Linked DNA regions of Homo sapiens: all the other regions are linked to region 5. Evidence: promoter capture Hi-C in 16 types of primary human blood cells and fetal thymus (Javierre and others, 2016). All regions are on one chromosome and are shown on one strand. The core of a region is centred on a gene start or on the middle of the fragment in contact, and the rest is flanking DNA. Distances in the headings are between cores, read along the strand shown. Region 1 overlaps CSAD (cysteine sulfinic acid decarboxylase). Region 2 has its middle 7.1 kb from the start of SLC61A1. Region 3 overlaps ZNF740 (zinc finger protein 740). Region 4 holds the start of LOC122455340. Region 5 holds the start of AMHR2 (anti-Mullerian hormone receptor type 2).

Region 1 (3,930 bases), core at 228-2,727, 250 kb after region 5:
AGAGCCAGCGGGGGTTGAGGGGTTGCGTAATAGAGATGAGCAGTGTGTGGCTCCCTTTGCCTTCCATTAGACCTTTGATAACAGTGGATTGAGGAGTTGGGAAACCACATGATGTGCAAGGGACATTCCTTGAGCCTGATGATTTGTATATTTTAGAATTCTTGTACCCCCTTAATTCCTCCATATATATATATATTTTTGAAATGGAGTCCCACTCTGTCGCCCAGGCTGGAGTGCAGTGGTACCATCTTGGCTCAGTGCAACCTCCGCCTCACAGGTTCAGGTGGATCCTGCCTCAGCCTCCTGAGTAGCTGGGATTACAGGCACCCGCCACCACGCCCGGCTAATTGTGTATTTTTTAGTAGAAATGAGGTTTCGCCATGTTGGCCAGGCTGGTCTCAAACCCCTGACCTCAGGTGATCCACCCACCTCAGCATCCCAAAGTGCTGGGATTACAGGTGTGAGCCACCACACGCGGACAATTTTTATATTGTTTAAAAAGAACCGTTATTTTAATTCCATAAGCAATGTGAAATGATTGTATAAAGTTATAAAAATATAGATGTGTATAAATAATAAACTTAAAAATCATCCATAACAACACCCAGAAATAGCCACAAATGAATATTTTGAAGTCTTTTTCCTTCTTTTTCAGTATTTTCTTTTTTTCTTTTTTTTTTTTTTGAGATGGAGTCTCGCTCTGTCGCCTAGGCTGGGGTGCAGTGGCGCGATCTCTGCTCACTGCAAGCTCTGCCTCCCGGGTTCACGCCATTCTCCTGCCTCAGCCTCCAGAGTAGCTAGCTGGGACTACAGGGGCCCGCCACCACACCCGGCTAATTTTTTGTATTTTTAGTAGAGACGGGGTTTCACCGTGTTAGCCAGGATGGTCTCGATCTCCTGACCTCGTGATCCGCCCGCCTCGGCCTCCCAAAGTGCTGGGATTACAGGCGTGACCCACTGCGCCTGGCCTGTATGACCCGTTTTACATGAAATGGCCAGACTAGACAAATCTACAGAAACAAAGTAGATTAGTAGTTGCCAGGGGTCGGGGAAGGGGAGAATGGGAAATGACTGCTACTGAGGTTTTTTTTTGGGTGATGAAAATGTTCTGGCGTTAGATAGTGATGATGGTTGCAACAACTTTGTGAATTTATGAAAAAAACACTTAATTGTACACTTTTCACCCCACTTCCTCTGCCATCTTGGTCCTGCTGTCCTGAGGAGCTACCTGTGCACCCTGCCTCCGGCTCTCCTGAGCAGAGAGGTAAGCTTGTCTCTGCCTTAGGTGGAAATGGCCACTAGAGTCCACTTGCTCAGCACTGACTGCCTTTTCTCTCCCACCTGTTCCCACTGGTTTTCTCCCTGGGCACTCTCACTTGCCCTTGTCTGTGCACTGGAGGCCGAGACTGAGCTGCAGGGTTTGGGCCTCAGGCCCGTTTGGGAGAGGAGGCTCCTGCTGGGTAGGTCCGGGAAGGGTTGACAGGCTGAGTAGGGAATGACTCTGCTCTGCCACAGATCCTGATGGCTGACTCAGAAGCACTCCCCTCCCTTGCTGGGGACCCAGTGGCTGTGGAAGCCTTGCTCCGGGCCGTGTTTGGGGTTGTTGTGGATGAGGCCATTCAGAAAGGAACCAGTGTCTCCCAGAAGGTGAGTCCTTTCTTCCTCCTCCTTCCCATCAAGCTTTCTTTCTTTTCTTTTCTCTTTTCTTTTTTCCTTTCTTTTCTTTCTCCCCCCCCCTTCCTTCCTTCTTTCTTCCTTCCTTTTTTCCTTTCTTCCTTTCTTTCTTGACAGAGTCTCGCTCTATCGGCCAGGCTGGAGTGCAGTGGCACAATCTTGGCTCACTGCAACCTCCGTCTCCCGGGCTCAAGCAGCTCTCCTGCCTCAGCCTCCCGAGTAGCTGGGATTACAGGCATGTGCCACCACGCCCGGCTAATTTTTGTATTTTTAGTAGAGACGGGGTTTCACCATGTTAGCCAGGCTGCTCTCGAACTCCTGACCTCAGGTAATCTGCCTGCCTCGGCCTCCCAAAGTGCTGAGGTTACAGGCGTGAGCTACCACGCCTGGCCCAAGCCTTCTCTTTCTCTTTCCAAATCTGGCTCAGAACTTTCCTCCTTTGATAAGATTTCTCCCCAGAATTCATCCCTGCCCCCCTGGGTACCTCAGGGATTTACATTCTGGGTCTTACTGTGTTCACTACTCTTGTTCATTTTCAGAGTTTTGCTTTGGAAATATCCCGAAGTTGTTTTTAGTGCAGGTTGGCCGTGTCTCGTGTCTGTGGAGGTGTGGTTTGACAGCCAGTCCACAGGCATCCCAGGCCCCCAGCATCCCCGGCTCTCTTCCTAGGTCTGTGAGTGGAAGGAGCCTGAGGAGCTGAAGCAGCTGCTGGATTTGGAGCTGCGGAGCCAGGGCGAGTCACAGAAGCAGATCCTGGAGCGGTGTCGGGCTGTGATTCGCTACAGTGTCAAGACTGGTGGGCCCTGGCTTCTGTGAGGAGGAGACTTGGGAGTTTGCCCTGAGCTCTACTCTGAGCTCCCTGGCTTACTCTCCTTCTCCAGGTCACCCTCGGTTCTTCAACCAGCTCTTCTCTGGGTTGGATCCCCATGCTCTGGCCGGGCGCATTATCACTGAGAGCCTCAACACCAGCCAGTGAGCATCCCAAGGCCCCTCTACCATCCCACAAAGGATTTAGGTTTGCTAGAGAGGTGCCTGAGGGGTAGGGGAGGAGAATGGTTCTGCCCTCTCTCTACTGCTTCTGGGAATCCCTGTCGGCAGAGAGTTTTTCCTCATATCCTTTGGACCCACTTTCTCCAAACTTTCTCAGGCCTCCTGACCCCTGTTTTCTCTTTCTTGCTTCCCTGGTTCTGTCACCAACTCGTTCTTCTCCTTGGACTGTTGCTTTGCTCACTCTTCACTGCCTCCTTTTTGTGACTCCTGTGCAGTTTAAGGGCCTGTCTGGGCAGTCCCTCCCCATCTCTCCTTTCTCGTCGTTCTCTCTCCTGGCAGGTACACATATGAAATCGCCCCCGTGTTTGTGCTCATGGAAGAGGAGGTGCTGAGGAAACTGCGGGCCCTGGTGGGCTGGAGCTCTGGGGACGGAATCTTCTGCCCTGGTTTGTGAGAAGGAGGAGGACCTTTCTTTGCCCTTTTTATGAGTTCCTCCTCCCCCACCGTTCTCTTGCTCTAGTGTCTGGCAGGGAGGGATGATTCCTCTTTGATTCCTCTCCAGCTGGACCCAGGCCAGGCCAGGGAGGCGGCTGCCTGGTCCCTTCATGCTCATGTTTGTCACCATTCCCTGGGGTCAGTGGTCTAGTTCCTGCTATCTCCGGACGGGGGCTGTCTCTTGGGGGCAGCCCCAGATGTGGAGAGGTGTGGTCAAGAGGATCTGCTGATCCTGGATCCATTCTGGGATGGTATGATCCTGAGAATTGTGGCCTGGGAGCCAGTCATACCTGCTTCTTTGATGAGCTCTTCTGGTAGAAAGGGAAGGGAGGCAAGCTCCAGTCTTGACCCACTGCTCCTTCCTCTTGCCACCGCCCCCTCCCTGTGACAGGTGGCTCCATCTCCAACATGTATGCTGTAAATCTGGCCCGCTATCAGCGCTACCCGGATTGCAAGCAGAGGGGCCTCCGCACACTGCCGCCCCTGGCCCTATTCACATCGAAGGAGGTGGGGAAGAGGCACAGGCCCAACCCTGGGCTCCTGATTCTAATCTCCAGCCAGCTAAGTAGAGACCTTCCAGGTCTTCTCCCTGCCCTCCCTACATCCTCCAAGGCCAGCCTGCCCCCAGGCGGATGTGCTTCCTTCCAATCAAGGAGGTCAAGTAACTGCTCCTGTTCACATTGCCTTCTGTTTGGGGGCAGAGGAGGGGCCGTGAGTGCAGTGGACACAGTCCATACTCTTCCTACTCAAGAGTGTGGTCTGTGGACCAGC
Region 2 (3,960 bases), core at 674-3,173, 160 kb after region 5:
TCTGGGCAACAGAATGAGACTCCATCTCTAAAAAAACTAAAGTGGCTGAGCGCGGTGGCTCGCACCTGTAATCCCAGCACTTTGGGAGGCTGAGGCAGGTAGATCACCTGAGGTCAGGAGTTCGAGACCAGCCTGACCAACAAGGTGAAACCCCATCTCTACTAAAAATACAAAAATTTTGCTGGACGTGGTGGCGTGCACCTGTAGTCCCAGCTACTTGGTAGGATGAGACAGAAGAATTGCTTGAACACAGGAGGCGAAGGTTGCAGTGAGCTGAGATCATGCCATTGCACTCCAGCCTGGGTGACAGGGTGAGACTGTCTCAAAAAAATAAATAAATAAAAATTTTTTTAAAATGTAAAAATTAGCCTGTAATCCCAGCACTTTGGGAGGCCGAGGCGGGTGAGTCATGAGGTCAGGAGATCGAGACCATCCTGGCTAATACGGTGAAACCCCATTTCTACTAAAAATATAAAAAATTAGCTGGGCATGGTGGCGGGAGCCTTTAGTCCCAGCTACTTGGGAGGCTGAGGCAGGAGAATGGTGTGAACCCAGGAGGCGGAGCTTGCAGTGAGCCAAGGTCGGGCCACTGTACTCCAGCCTGGGCGACAGAGCAAGACTCCATCTCAAAAAAAAAAAAAAAGTGAAAAATTAAAGTAAGTTTAAAGAATTATCTTCAGGCCAGGCACAGTGGCTCACACCTGTAATTCCAACATTTTGGGAGGCTGAGGTGGGAGGACTGCTTGAGCTCAAGGGTTCGAGACTAGCCTGGGTCACATAGTGAGACCATCTTCTCTACAAAAAAAAAAAAAAAAAAAAATTAGCTAGGTGTGGTGGTGTGCACCTGTAGTCCCAACTACTCAGAGGTGGGAGGACTGCTTGAGCCCAGGAGGTCGAGGCTGCAGTGAACTGTTATCGTGCCACTGCACTCTAGCCTGGGTGACATAAGACCTTGTCTTAAAACGAAAAAGAAAAAAAATGAATTATTTTCAGAGGCAGCAACAGAAGGCAAAAAAAAAAAAAAAATGCCAAGCACGGTGGTGTTTGAGTAGTCCCAGCCAGTCTGGAGGCTGAGGTGGAGGTGGGAGGATCACTTGAGCTCAGCAGTTGGAGGCCAGCCTGGGTGACATAGCAAGATTCAGTCTCAAGAAAAAGCCGGGCATGGTGGCTCACTCCCGTAACCCCAGCACTTTGGGAGGCCAAGGTGGGCGGCTCACTTGAGATCAGGAGTTTGAGACCAGCCTGGCCAACATGGTGAAACCCCATCTCTACTAAAAATGCAAAAATTAGTCAGGCATGATGGCGCACACCTTGTAGTCCCAGTTACTGGGGAGGCAGAGGTAGGAGAATTGCTTGAATCCAGGAGGCTGAGGCTGCAGTGAGCCAAAATTGTGCCACTGCCCTCCAGCCTGGGTGAAAGAGGGAGGCCCTGTCCCCCCCAAAAAAAAAAAGAAAAAGCCATACTCAGATTTTGAACTGCGCCATGGGTCAGTGGCTTGCTGTTGTTCAAGCGTCAACTATATATTTATATAGCAATACAAATATATGTATTTTAATATACTACTATAACGTAATTAGCACATACTGATATTCACATATGTATATAAAATATGCATTTCTGTATTTGCATTTGACCATTTTACAATGAGACCATATAACTTTATGAAAAAAACAGTTAAAGTAAATGTGAGGTATTTTTATAACATCAGATCTGATCTCAAGCATGACATTTGTTTGTGTTACATTTCCAATCTGTGGTTCTATGGGGAGGTAGTGGCAGCAAATAATAAAAAGGGCAGGAAAACCACAGGATTGGGGTTAGGGGAAGAGCGATAAGGAGAGGACCTAGACTCAGCTGACCATTAGCCGGGAACAGCCCCCTCCCCTCCCAGGGCAGGGACTGAATTTCCAGGAAGAGGTCATCCTCCAGGCCTCAGAACCCTGTACTGTCTTCCTGCCCCAGTCCTCCTGCCTCCTCGTTCATTGGCTCCTGGGTCCCCAGGATGTTTCTCTTTTCTCCTCAGGATCGCTTAAAAGCTCCAGATCAAATAATCATGTTTCCAGCTGGATGGAAATTCAGAAAATCAGGAGCCTCTTAGTGAAAGATGGTGGTTGTATCCAGTCTAACCCCAAGCTGACTTTCCCACTAGAGGAAGAGGAAATGAGTTCAAGTGGAACACATTGACACCCAGCTCAGATGCTCACATATCCCAGAGTAGAAGCCTTCTCAAATAGCTCGATAATTCCATCTGGGCCAGTACTGAGGATAAACGCTGCTGGGAATCCCCCAATCACTAAGATGCATTGGGAAGTTCTACACCCCATTACAGTCCTGTCCACTCATTCCCACACTCAAATCTAGATAGGCTCAGCTGGATTGGAGAAGTTAAAAAATAAAATATAAAAGCAAACACTTATGTAGTGCTTATACTGTGGGCCAAATACTGTTCTAAGCACTTAAGTACAATGACGCATTTAATCCTCACAAGAACCCTTAGGGGTTGAAACTATACTATCCTCCCCATTTCACAGATGAGGAAACTGAGGCACAGAGTTGTGGAGCCAGATTCAAACCAGGCAGTTGGGCTTTTTTTTTTTTTTTTTTTGAGATGGAGTTTCACTCTTGTTGCCCAGGCTGGAGTGCAATGAATGGCATGATGGCATGATCTCGGCTCACTGCAACCTCCGCCTCCAGGGTTCAAGCGATTCTCCTGCTTCAGCCTCCCGAGTAGCTGGGATTACAGGCGCCCACCACCATGCCTGGCTAATTTTTGTATTATCATAGAGACGGGTTTCACCATGTTGGCCAGGCTGGTCTCGACTCCTGACCTCTGGTGATCCACCTGCCTTGGCCTCCCAGAGTGCTGGGATTACAGGAGTGAGCCACTGTGCCCGGCCAGATCCACATTTTTTTTTTCCAGGTGGAGTCTCCCTCTGTCGCCCAGGCTGGAGTGCAGTGGTGCGACCTTGGCTCACTGCAAGCTCCACCTCCCGGGTTCATGCCATTCTTCTCCCTCAGCCTCCCAAGTAGCTGGGACTACAGGCGCCCACCACCACAACTGGCTAATTTTTTGTATTTTTAGTAAAGACAGGGTTTCACCGTGTTAGCCAGGATAGTCTTGATCTCCTGACCTCATGATCCGCCCGCCTTGGCCTCCCAAAGTGCTGGGATTACAGGTGTGAGCCACCGCACCCGGCCCTCAGATCCACATTTTTAATCACTTCCCTATGGGGCCTCTTGGTGGAGCATCATGAGCAGCATTTCGCAGGGAGTATGCACCTGGTGAACCAGTCCCTCATTTGAATAATCTGGATAGATACCCCTAAGTGGATCAGACAGCCAAATACTCCTACTCTCTTGCTGTTCTCCAGGGACAGAGCTTTGGGTGGGGAAGCAGGGCTGGAGGCTAAAAAAACAGGTAAGTGAAGTCCCATGGGACAGAGGCAGCATGTGTCATAGAGGGGGCACTGGGTTGGCAAAAAGAGGCAAGGTTTAGTCTTAGTTTTATCACTCACTTGCTACATGCCCTTAGGCAAGTTATTTGCTTTCTTTAAGTGGATTTTCCTCTTGGGTAAAATAAATAAATAAATAAATAAATAAATAAATAAGGCCAGGTGTGGTGGCTCACGCCTGTAATCCCAGCACTTTGGGAGCCTGAGGCGGGTGGATCACGAGGTCAAGAAATCAAGACCATTCTGGCCAACATGGTGAAATCTCGTCTCTACTAAAAATTAACTGGGTGCGGTGGGGTGTGTCTGTAGTCCCAGCTACGCGGGAGGCTGAGGCAGGAGAATCACTTGAACCTCGGAGCCGAGATGGTGCCACTGCACTCCAGCCTGGCAATACAGCGAGACTCCATCTCAAAAAAATAAATAAATAGGCCGGGCACGGTTGCTCATGCCTGTAATCCCAGCACTTTGGGAGGCCAAGGCGGGTGGATCATGAGGTCAGGAGTTTGA
Region 3 (3,739 bases), core at 351-2,850, 230 kb after region 5:
TCTCAGAGGAGCTGATTGTGGAGTTGCACACGCTGTGTGACTGTAATTGCAGTGACACCCAGCCCCAGGCTCCCCACTGCAGTGATGGCCAGGGACACCTACAATGTGGTGTATGCAGGTGAGGGCCTCCTCTTCCCTTCAACCACCTGGCTCCCAACAACCAACCAACCCTGGCCCGTATTCCTCCGCTGCTTTCCATCCCCCCCACAGGAGTCTCCTCGACATCCCGACTCCCCACTCAGTTTCATCCCTTGAAGCTTCCCATGTATGTCCAGGCCCTCCCCCTGACTGGGGCTCCCTCCACTCTCTCACCCCTCAGTGTTTCACTATACTTAACATCCTTTCAGCTGTTTGTCTGTCTCCAACTCTTTTGAGAACTTGGGTTTAGAGGTTCCTGGGAGAGACAAGTCAGGGGTGATCAAACCCTCTGACCTACTTCTCTCCTTTGCCTTCCCCTTCCAGCTGTGCCCCTGGCCGCCTAGGTCGGCTCTGTGAGTGCTCTGTGGCAGAGCTGTCCTCCCCAGACCTGGAATCTGGGTGCCGGGCTCCCAATGGCACAGGGCCCCTGTGCAGTGGAAAGGGTCACTGTCAATGTGGACGCTGCAGCTGCAGTGGACAGAGCTCTGGGCATCTGTGCGAGTGTGACGATGCCAGCTGTGAGCGACATGAGGGCATCCTCTGCGGAGGTACCTGGAGCCTTGGGGAGAAGGGCGGGGTCTGAGAGGCCTTCCCAAGGCACTTAGGCTCTGGGAATCTCCTGGCATGGAAGGCAAATATCAAAAGATTCCGGTGTATGGGTTAGAGGGTGTGGTTGGCATACTTCAAAAAGATTGGATGCGTGGGCTTGTCGTGCCACATGATGGCCAACTGTGTGTGTGGAGTATGGTTGTCACCCTCTGCATGGCTCTACCCCAGGCTTTGGTCGCTGCCAATGTGGAGTATGTCACTGTCATGCCAACCGCACGGGCAGAGCATGCGAATGCAGTGGGGACATGGACAGTTGCATCAGTCCCGAGGGAGGGCTCTGCAGTGGGCATGGACGCTGCAAATGCAACCGCTGCCAGTGCTTGGACGGCTACTATGGTGCTCTATGCGACCAATGCCCAGGCTGCAAGACACCATGCGAGAGACACCGGTGAGGCCTCAGGTCTTGCATCTTGGGAGCAGGGGCACAGTGGGGCTTGTTGAGCTACTCCCATCTGCCTACTCTCCGTCCTGCTTGTAGTTGGGCAAGGGGCATTGGGTGACAACTGCCCAGCTGGTAACCTATTGGCATCTACTACACAGGGACTGTGCAGAGTGTGGGGCCTTCAGGACTGGCCCACTGGCCACCAACTGCAGTACAGCTTGTGCCCATACCAATGTGACCCTGGCCTTGGCCCCTATCTTGGATGATGGCTGGTGCAAAGAGCGGACCCTGGACAACCAGCTGTTCTTCTTCTTGGTGGAGGATGACGCCAGAGGCACGGTCGTGCTCAGAGTGAGACCCCAAGAAAGTAAGTGGGCAGGGATGCCACAAACCCTGGAAGTTTGATGGGCAGGGTCTCAACTCTGGGGATGCAGAGTGAAGATAATGGGAAACAGGCTGGGGGCTGAAGCAGAACTGTGAATCCAGGACAAAGGCAGAGGCAATTGAGCAAGTGGACGAGGCTAAGGCCCTGGGCGGTGAGGATAACCTTGGACCTCCCTGGGTTCCCTTTGCTTTCAGTGACAGACAGGGTTGGACAGGCTGGACACACTGTGAGCAACTGATGATCTGTCCCTATGCTCCAGCTCCCACAAGTGTGTCTGGTTTCTTGTTCACAGAGGGAGCAGACCACACGCAGGCCATTGTGCTGGGCTGCGTAGGGGGCATCGTGGCAGTGGGGCTGGGGCTGGTCCTGGCTTACCGGCTCTCGGTGGAAATCTATGACCGCCGGGAATACAGTCGCTTTGAGAAGGAGCAGCAACAACTCAACTGGAAGCAGGTGAGGAGACTTCCTGGTTAGGCCCCTTTTTAGCTGTTCCCCCACCACAAGACCAGCCCTGATTCCTCCCACTGGGTTCCCCCAGCCCCTGGCACATGTAACCAACCCCTCTGCTAACTTCCATCAGCTCCTAGGATTCGGCTCAAGGCTGGCCTCTTAGGTCTAGAAAGGGGACGAGGAATCCTGGGATTTTTGCTTATAATCTGCAACATCTTTCTCCAGGACAGTAATCCTCTCTACAAAAGTGCCATCACGACCACCATCAATCCTCGCTTTCAAGAGGCAGACAGTCCCACTCTCTGAAGGAGGGAGGGACACTTACCCAAGGCTCTTCTCCTTGGAGGACAGTGGGAACTGGAGGGTGAGAGGAAGGGTGGGTCTGTAAGACCTTGGTAGGGGACTAATTCACTGGCGAGGTGCGGCCACCACCCTACTTCATTTTCAGAGTGACACCCAAGAGGGCTGCTTCCCATGCCTGCAACCTTGCATCCATCTGGGCTACCCCACCCAAGTATACAATAAAGTCTTACCTCAGACCACAGCTGTCACTTTGCTTTACCTCATCAAGGCCAAAGCAGACTGTTTATAGCCTGGGCCTCGGGAAAGCTCTTGTCCATCCTCCTCTTGCCACCTGAGGGCAGGGAGAGGTGCCCAAGCGCGAATGTGCAGGAAACTCCCGGGGTGCACCCTGGGACCCAGGAAGCCAGGTCTGGAAAGGGCCTATGAATTCTCAAGTGCTGCGGATGCAGGGGGGTCCCAGGTCAGAGACACTGCATCTGTTGGTGTCTAGCCTCCTTCCGTCCTGCTGCGTGTGCTTTTTCGTCTTGCTCAGAACTGATGCCCTGTTTTTGCTCCTACTTGCTTGTTCCTCTGTGGAGAAGGGGTTTTAAAATGGCTTATAGGGTGCTGGAAGTTGTGGGGTGATTATGTAGGGAGAAAAAAGGAAAACAACTAAAACCAGTATGAAAAAGCTTCCCCAAAGAGGAGATAGTATGTAGAAAAGCCCCATTTTCCTTTTATTTAAATATCCTAAATATATCACGAAGGAACATACACTGCACTTTAATGGTAAAAAGATACAAGTTTATAACATCTTATAAAAACTACCATTTAAAAGTGATCTTGTCCATTTGATATTCCCCTCCCCCATAGCAAAATATTATTTAAAAAAAAAAAAAACAAAAAACAGGGTGGAGAGGAGGATAGGAAGGGGACAGTTGATAAAACCCCAGGGCCACAGCAGAGGCAAAGGGCATCTGGGGAGAGGGTTCGAAGCTGTGGCGGACTCCACTAATGTAACCCTCCAATGTCAAGCCATGGGCGTGATCAGTAGCTAAGTGATGACAAGGCTGTTGGGGGTGGACGGAAAAGACTTGGGGCAAAGCAGACTGTTTATAGCCTGAGCTGGTAGGGCCTGGTGCAGCAGCCTACCCGGAACTGGCACTACTCTTTCCCAGGTTCCCTGACTCTCTATCCTGGTCTCTGAGAGCGTGCCCTACTTCCGTTTCCCCCACTCCAAACACACCTGAGGCATCTTCCAGTGCTAGGCCCCATGCTGGCCAGCAGGGGTCGGGCATTGGGCCCAGGAGCCTCTGCAGCGGTGTGAGTCAGTGGCTTCCCTGGGGTATCCGTGGGGCTCCCGGGCCCTCTGGATGCCAAATCACTCCTTTCACTGCTTTGCGCCTCTCTTCTCACACATGCACTGCCCCAGACATCAGCGCGGGAACTGAACCAACCACCTGCTCCTGAGTTTCCCTCACTGGGTCCTTGGC
Region 4 (4,111 bases), core at 368-2,867, 180 kb after region 5:
GATGTGGTGATACAATTAGGTGAAGGCAAAATGTCCCAGTGACAGAGAGTGAGGAGGAAACAGAAATGAAGAGAGTGAGGTAGAAAGACAGAAGGAAACACAAACAGCTATAAAGACAAGAACGAAAGGAGTCCTAGAGAAGGCAGCTAAGAAAAAGAAGCTTGGAACAGATTAGTACAGGAGCCAGAAAACTGGAGAGACGTGGAGTGGTGCTCAGGGGCTCTCAGCCTAGGAGCTCATCCCAGGCAGATACCAGAGTCTCCCACTTCCAGCTATCTCTTTTTTTTTTTTTTTAAGACAGAGTTTAGCTCTTGTTGCCCAAGCTGGAGTGCAACGGCGCGGTCTTGGCTCACTGCAACCTCCACCTCCCGGGTTCAAGCGATTTTCCTGCCTTAGCCTCCCTAGTAGCTGGAATTACAGGTGCGCGCCACCATGCCCAGCTAATTTTTTGTATTTTTAGTAGAGACGGGGTTTCACTATATTGGCCAGGCTGGTATCGAACTCCTGACCTCAGGCGATCCACTTGCCTCAGCCTCCCAAAGTGCTGGGATTACAGGCATGAGCCACCGAGCCTGGCTCTCAGCTATCTCTTGGTGGCTTGTCTCATCTCCCAGTCCCATCCCTGGGGACAGGAGACTTACAGCTACCTATGTGTGGATGCCATCCTTAGGAGCCTGAGTCAAGGGTTCCCAGCCTCCCTCATCCCTATGCCAGATGAGCCTGGATGTCACAGATGGGATCACTGCTGCAAGATTGAGGTCATGAGGCTGAGTGAGCTCTCAGAGATTTGAAAGACAAGACATCCAGGCAGAGGGTTCCTGGCTAGAAACAAAGGACCACAAAGGATGCCAAGGATTTCCAAGTGGAGGGAGGAACCAAATATCTTCCACTCAGCCTCTTCTTCTGGTCCAAAAGCCACTGACCCTCTCTGCCTGACTCAAGGTGAGAGGTCAGGGATTCAGAGACTCTTGGGTCAATCTTGGGTGTAGGTCAGAGGGAGAAGAAGTGGCCTCTGGACCAGGATACTCCAGCTCCTCTAGAGGAAGAGTCCATTTATTCATGTGAACTGCAGAGGAGACTCCAATGGAGGCTCAGTGGAGAGGAAGAAATGACAACTTGCTCACCTTCAGGGGCCGTGGGGGAGGCTCTGAGAAGAACACCTTCCATTCCAGAGGTTGCAGAGGAAGAGGTTCTGGAACCAGCAGGAGCACATCCAGAAACTAACTTCAAAGCAGATTCCCCCTGCCACCTCTCCAGGACTGGGGAAAGCCAGCTGCCTCTACCTGCTTGAGGGAGGGGTCCAGCTGATCCCTCTCCCACTCCACCCAGCTCCTGCCTCCTTGCCAGGGCAGCAGTACGGAAGTGCTCCAGGAAACTGACAGTCTCCTGGTGGGCAACAGTCCACCTAAATGATCAGACAGCGCCCCCGAGAAGTGCGTTGTTGTCCCCTGAAGCAGCAGCTACAGCAGCCAAGGGAGCCTGGAGGTCCCCAGGCAGCCCCTTGGCCACAGCTACAGCTATCACTGCAGCCTAAACGGGAGCTCAAACAGGCAGCTCGGCTCATGGAGCAAGGGTAAACTGGGCAGGGTGAGGGGTGGCAGCAGGTCAAGGGTGGACCGGAGCATGAGACACAGGAGTTATGGGGACAAGTCAAGGGAGGACAGGCAGGGCAGCGGGGGCAAGAGCAGGTGCAGGGTGGGCCCGGGAGGCTGGGACAAGCGGGGCAGGGAGCTGCACTAGAGGGACAGGCAGTGCAGGAGCATGGGGGTGGGGGACAGCCATGGCAGGGGAAGGCACAGGCAGATGGGGGACAGGACAGACAAGGAGAGCCAGCAGGTGGACCATGCCTGGAGCAGGCAGGAGGCTCTTGGTGGGCAGGCTTCTTATTCCTAGGCCCCAAGCGTAGGCCCAGAGAGAAGTCCATTCAGCTGCAGTTGTGGCCAGGCTGGGGGCTGGGTGAAGGGGAGGACAGGGATGGAGTAGGAGGGGCGGACGGTGGGGGGCAGGATTAAACCTAAGACATGCTGAGCCTTGCTGATCCTGCAGGGAGCTCAGCCCTCCACATCCAGCCCTCCTTTTCCAGCCCTCCCCTTCCAGGCCGGCAAAGCTCTCCTACTACCCCTCTCCCCTGAAAATCCTCCAACAGCACCAGATCAGAACACTTTCTTCAAATATGACATGTACTCCCAGGCCTCCAGTCCTTTGTTCACACTGGTCCTTCTGCTCTGAGTGCCCCTGCTCCCTTCTTCACCTGGCGAGGCCCTGTCATTGCTGAAGTCTTCTCCTTTACTCAATCAAAAAGCATTTCTTGGCCAGGCACGGTGGCTCATGTCTGTAATCCCAGCACTTCGGGAGGCTGAGGTGGGCGGATCACCCGAGGTCAGGAGATCGAGACCAGCCTGACCAACATGGAGAAACCCTGTCTCTACTAAAAATACAAAACTGGCCGGGCGTGGTGGCACATGCCTGTAATCCCAGCTACTCGGGACGCTGAGGCAGGAGAATCGCTTGAACCCGAGAGGTGGAGGTTGCAGTGAGCTGAGATCATGCCATTGTACTCCAGCCTAGGCAACAAGAGCAAAACTTGGTCTCATAAAACCCCAAAAAACAAACAAACAAACAAAATATTTCTTGAGCTCTAGGCCCCTGATGCCTGAGTCTCTCCAACACTAACCTCCAGAGCTGCTGCTTCAGGGACCCCAAACAGCTCCCACAGGGGACTCAGGGAAGCAGCAGCAGGCAATAGCAGTGGCCACAGGAGGGCTCTGAAAGACGGAGTCTGGGATGTAGTTGGGAGCTGGCAGAGGAGGTGGGATGCCTGGGTTCTAGGAATTTCCAGAGAGAGCAAGTCCCAGGTGTGAGTGTGGGGGGTGCTCAACTGTCTCTGGGAGATTGACAACCAGCCTGGTCAACTATTATTTGAGACCTAGTATGCATCAGGCACTGGCCTTGGTAGTGGACAAGATAGTTAAGTTTCCTCTCTTATGGAGTTCCCATAAAAATGAGGAAGTGAGGGGTGGGGTGAGGTGGGGTGGAGACAAAAAGCAAACAGGTAAACATATAACTAAGCTTATTTCAGAGCATGAGAAAGGCTATTTTTTTTTTTTTTTTGAGACAGAGTCTCGCTCTGTCGCCCAGGCTGGAGTGCACTGGCACAGTCTTAGCTCACTGCAACCTCCACCTCCCGGGTTCACGCCATTCTCCTGCCTCAGCCTCCCGAGTAGCTGGGACTACAGGCACCTGCCACCATACCCGGCTAATTTTTTGTATTTTTAGTAGAGACAGGGTTTCACTGTGTTAGCCAGGATGGTCTCAATCTCCTGACCTTGTGATCCACGTGCCTCGGCCTCCCAAAGTGCTGGGATTACAGGCGTGAGCCACCGCACTCGGCCCGAGAAAGGCTATTCTTATCCCAGGGTGATGTGATAAAAAGTGACTCGGAGAGGTGACTCCATCAGAAGTGACAGTTAGACCAGCCCCCAATCAGGTATGACCACCCTTAAGGGCTTTGGGGGAGATGCAGTCTGTCAAACCCTGGCAGAGGAGGCAGAGCTGACCGAGGCTGAATGGAACCCGAGTGGCTGGGTTATGGAGAAAAATAAAGCTGAGAAAGGAATAAGGAAGGCTGGAGGTGGCAATCCAAAATTCAGTGGTCAGGGAAGGTGTCACTGAGCAAAGACCTGAAAGAAGTGAGAGCAAGTCATGGAATTATCTAGTGGGAGAACATTCCAGAGAGTGGGGACAGCAAGTGCCAGGAGCAAAGAGGAGAGTCATAGTGGCACAGGTCAGAGAGTAAGGCAGAGGTCCTACCATGCAGGGTCTTGTGAGACATGGCAGGGACTTGGATCTTATTCCAAGTAAAAAGGGAAAACCAGCCAGACGAGGTGGCTCCCACCTGTAGTCCCAGCACTCTGGGAGGCCGAGGGGAAGATTGCCTGAGCCCAGAAGCTCAAGACTAGCTTGGGCAATATAGTGAGACTGCATTCTCTACAAAAAATTTAAAAAATTATCCGACTTGGTGGCATGAGCCTGTAATCCCAGCTACTCGGCAGGCTGAGGCAAGAGGCAGAGGCTGCAGTGAGCCGAGATCACATCACTGCGCTCCAGCCTG
Region 5 (3,606 bases), core at 1-2,500:
TCCCCTCCTGAGAGCTTGCGTCTCAACCCACCCCCACCCTGGTCACAAGACCCCTTATCTCCCAGTCACCAGGGCAACCAACTTCCCAAGGCCAGGAGGAGGAAAGCGTGGGGCGGGAGTAGGGTGAGAACTGGCCCTGGTTCCACCTCTCATCCTAACCTGGGCCCCAGCCCCCATCAGGCTTCAGTACCCTTGGGTGGCTACCTGGGGCAGCCTGGGGACCCTGGGAGCCAGGAGTCCCAGGGCTCCCTGGAGGAGGCAGATGGCTGTAATTGGCATTGCAGAAGTCAGTGCCACAGGAGCAGGTGAAGAGAGTGGAGCCAGGGCTGGGGTGGGCTCGGGGACTTGGGTCACAGTGGAGGGACTCACAGCCTGGCTCATCACTGTCTCGGCATCCTGATGGGATGGGATTAGGGGAAGAGGAGAGAAAGGGGGGGCAAGGAAGAAAGCACAATGGGGTGTGGAAACAGAGGGTAAATCCCTTCTCTATCAGAGGCGTCCCTTCCAGCTCTCATGGGCTTTTCTTTCCCACCAGATGTTCTATTTCTCCCCTTCCCCCTTGGTTGCCACCCACACCCCAGGATGTGTCTGTCTCCCACCCTAGCCATCACCTGCCATATACTTTGCCATTCACCTTGCATTTCCACCTGTGCCCGGTCTTGGGTCAGGTTCCAGATCCCAAAGCAGCAGCGGCTGTAGAGGCAGCGGATAGCTCTGGGGAGCTCTGTGCCTGTATCTAGCAGCTCTCCCAGTGTCTTTGTGCTTCCCCGCACTCCAGGGGCCTCAAAGAACACACAGGTTCGCCTGTTTGGGGGTGCTGAGGCCCAGGGTGGGGAAAGGAAAAGATTCAAGGTGGGAGTGAATGCAGAGGCAAAAAACTGGCCAAAAGAATAGACAAAACATGTTCCACATCCCAGCGTCAGTATGGTAAAGCCACAGGAGGAAGCAGGGTCAGCAGAGGCCTGGAACCTGAGCCCTGCCATGGGGACACATGGCTCTATCCTTCACCCTTACTCACCCAGCCCACTCACCACTCTTCCAAAGGGGTGGCTCTTGCTTCAAGCGCCCCTTTCCCTTGCTGGATGGATGGAGAGACCCTTCCCCTCCCTGTAGACACTTACCTTCCACAGCTGTGGGAAGTAATGCCCAAAGCCCCAAAGACCCTAGCATCTTGCTGGAGGATGGCAGCAGCAGAAGGAGAAGAGCATAAGCCAGCACAGCTGCCCCTGGCCAAATCTTTCTTCAGATACAGGGCATCCTGGGGCTTCTGATCCCTCAGTCCCCAACTCCGCCCCCCTCATCCTATCCCAGCCTCTGTGGGGGAGAAGGCTGCTGTGGGGGAGAGGGTGGGTGTGGGGAAAGCAGGGAAAGAAAGGGAGGAGCAGAGAACCAATCTCATATCCTCTTCTCTTCTGCAACCTCCTCTTTGCTCTGCATAGTGAGAGGAGGGGAACTTGGAGGCCCAGCTGAGAACCCAGTGATGCCTAATTTCAAATCTTTGCCCTTCCCTGACCTTGGAAGAAGATGCTGGACTCTGTTGACTCTTCTCAGGAGGAAACCAATGTGAGGTCAAATGCTTAGAGCCATTCAGCTCTGCCCAAGATCCTTTCTAGCCTAAGATCTCTTTATATTCAGGGTTCATATCTGCAACTGCTTGGGCAGAGGAAGGCCTCACAGCCCATATTAGAGGTTACCTTGTTTTCCAACTTAAGAATCAGAAAGTATACAAAACTTACCTGAATTTTTAAAAAACACATTGAAAACAGTAACAATGGTAAATTTTGCTATGTGGATTTTTTTTTTTTTTTTTTTGAGACGGAGTCTCGCTCTTCTCCCCCAGGCTGGAGTGCAGTGGCACGATCGCAGCTCACTGCAACCTCCGCCTCCTGGGTTCAAGCTATTCTCCTGCCTCAGCCTCCTGAGTAGCTGGGATTACAGGCGCCTGCCACCACACCTGGCTAATTTTTGTATTTTTAGTAGAGACGGGGTTTCACCATGTCAGCCAGGCTAGTCTCGAACTCCTTACCTCAGGTGATTTGCCCGCCTCGGCCTCCCAAAGTGCTGGGATTATAGGCGTGAGCCACCATGCCTAGCCGTGGATTTTACTTAAAAAAAAAAAACACATTGGTTCACAGGCTGAACAAATACCCATTATTAAGGAGGTAACAAATTTCTTATCAAGCACCTACTATGTGCTGGGGCACAGCTAGGGCTATGCATTTTACAATCATCTCATCTAATTCTCCCCTGAAATATTTATTATTATTATTTTATTTATTTATTTTTTGAGACCGAGTGTCGCTCTGTCACCAGGCTAGAGTGCAGTGGTGCCATCTTGGCTCACTGCAACCTCTGACTCCCTGGTTCAAGCGATTCTCCTGCCTCAGCCTCCCGAGTAGCTGGGATTACAGGCACGCACCACCATGTCCAGCTAATTTTTGTATTTTTAGTAGAGACAGGGTTTCACCATGTTGGCCAGGATAGTCTCGATCTCGTGACCTCGTGATCTGCCCGCCTTGGCCTCCCAAAGTGCTGGGATTACAAGTGTGAGCCACTGTGCCTGGCCTATTATTTTTATTATTTCCATTTTATAGGTAAGAAAACTGAACTTACGTAAGTCGCCCAAAGTCATTCAGCTAGGAAATAGCAGAGCTGGAATTTGAACTTAGGCAGGTCTGACTCCAAAGTCCAGGTTCTAGTCTTATTTTTATTATTATTTTTGTACTTTTAGTAGAGACGGAGTTTCACCATGTTGGCCAGGATGGGGTCGATCTTTTTTTTTTTTTTTTTTTTTTTGAGATGGAGTCTTGCTCTGTCGCCCAGGCTGGAGTGCAGTAGCGCGATCTCGGCTCACTGCAAGCTCTGCCTCCCGGGTTAACGCCATTCTCCTGCCTCAGCCTCCCGAGCAGCTGGGACTACAGGCGGCCGCCACCACGCCCGGCTAATTTTTTGTATTTTTAGTAGAGACGGGTTTTCACCGTGTTAGCCAGGATGGTCTTGATCTCCTGACCTCGTGATCCGCCCGCCTCGGCCTCTCAAAGTGCTGAGATTACAGGCGTGAGCCACTGCGCCCGGCCGAAGGGGTCGATCTCTTAACCTCGTGATCCCTCCGCCTCGGCCGCCCAAAGTGCTGGGATTGCAGGCGTGAGCCACCGCACCCGGCCGGCTCTATTCTTTGTATTACACTATACTGCCTGAAAGACGTACAAAATTCAACAATGAAAAAAAATTACCACTTAATACTATACTTGGACATTTGAATTTAAATTGTTGAGAAAATATGCATCATTACCTGCCAACAGGCCACTAACTAAAAAGGGAGGGTACAGTTCAAACTATCACCACCAGAGGTCAGCAGAGGAGAAATTCCCTGCTGCGGTGAGAGGGCAGAAAGTACCTCCTCTGATGACTAATACATATAGTATACCTCCTACATTTACTAAGCTTCAGGGACTATAAAATGTGAAGGGCGGGCACAGGATGTGGAGAGTTTCAGCATGGAGTTGGGAGGAGAGGGCTATGGCTTGTTCTGCAGTAGAGACAGAGGAGTCCAACTCCACCAGACTCTTTCCCAGAGTAAGAAACAACAGAAATAGGTAATCACTT

Evidence for each region. Contacts are between HindIII fragments. The CHiCAGO score rates a contact against its expected background, and 5 or more counts as called.
Region 1: a fragment that was not itself captured here is called in contact with the fragment with the promoter of AMHR2 in region 5 in 6 of 17 cell types (neutrophils, activated CD4 T cells, total CD4 T cells and 3 more); the score reaches 7.0 in neutrophils.
Region 2: a contact is called between a fragment that was not itself captured here and the fragment with the promoter of AMHR2 in region 5, in 2 of 17 cell types (total B cells and erythroblasts). The highest score is 5.8, in total B cells.
Region 3: a contact is called between a fragment that was not itself captured here and the fragment with the promoter of AMHR2 in region 5, in 7 of 17 cell types (activated CD4 T cells, neutrophils, total CD8 T cells and 4 more). The highest score is 9.7, in activated CD4 T cells.
Region 4: a fragment that was not itself captured here is called in contact with the fragment with the promoter of AMHR2 in region 5 in 4 of 17 cell types (total B cells, endothelial precursors, activated CD4 T cells and 1 more); the score reaches 5.9 in total B cells.

Annotation. Positions count from the first base shown.
Region 1 is chr12:53,171,062-53,174,991 of GRCh38, reverse strand. It overlaps CSAD (cysteine sulfinic acid decarboxylase), which reads left to right. Exons shown (of 17, transcript NM_001244705.2): 3 at 1,222-1,264; 4 at 1,516-1,647; 5 at 2,344-2,470; 6 at 2,556-2,646; 7 at 3,004-3,110; 8 at 3,551-3,666. The coding sequence starts at 1,522. Among named protein-coding and RNA genes, the nearest start is that of ZNF740, 7.7 kb to the left of the region's middle. RefSeq lists enhancers at 1-113, 2,980-3,479. The HindIII fragment of the contact is 411 bases long and covers 1,272-1,682 here.
Region 2 is chr12:53,257,249-53,261,208 of GRCh38, reverse strand. No RefSeq gene overlaps it. Among named protein-coding and RNA genes, the nearest start is that of SLC61A1, 7.1 kb to the right of the region's middle. The HindIII fragment of the contact is 8,302 bases long and covers 1-3,960 here.
Region 3 is chr12:53,190,087-53,193,825 of GRCh38, reverse strand. It overlaps ZNF740 (zinc finger protein 740), which reads right to left. Exons shown (of 7, transcript NM_001004304.4): 7 at 1-3,739. It overlaps ITGB7 (integrin subunit beta 7), which reads left to right. Exons shown (of 16, transcript NM_000889.3): 11 at 1-118; 12 at 463-686; 13 at 916-1,135; 14 at 1,288-1,496; 15 at 1,807-1,967; 16 at 2,190-2,503. The coding sequence ends at 2,270. Among named protein-coding and RNA genes, the nearest start is that of CSAD, 11 kb to the right of the region's middle. RefSeq lists a silencer at 3,447-3,739. The HindIII fragment of the contact is 2,681 bases long and covers 260-2,940 here.
Region 4 is chr12:53,239,736-53,243,846 of GRCh38, reverse strand. It overlaps LOC122455340, which reads right to left and starts at 1,947. Exons shown (of 1, transcript NM_001395962.1): 1 at 1,125-1,947. The coding sequence starts at 1,924. The coding sequence ends at 1,406. RefSeq lists an enhancer at 1,124-2,036. The HindIII fragment of the contact is 2,909 bases long and covers 163-3,071 here.
Region 5 is chr12:53,421,499-53,425,104 of GRCh38, reverse strand. AMHR2 (anti-Mullerian hormone receptor type 2) reads right to left here and starts at 1,250. Exons shown (of 11, transcript NM_020547.3): 1 at 1,122-1,250; 2 at 635-817; 3 at 205-396. The coding sequence starts at 1,170. RefSeq lists a cis regulatory region at 3,163-3,606 and an enhancer at 3,366-3,606. The HindIII fragment of the contact is 5,088 bases long and covers 1-3,446 here.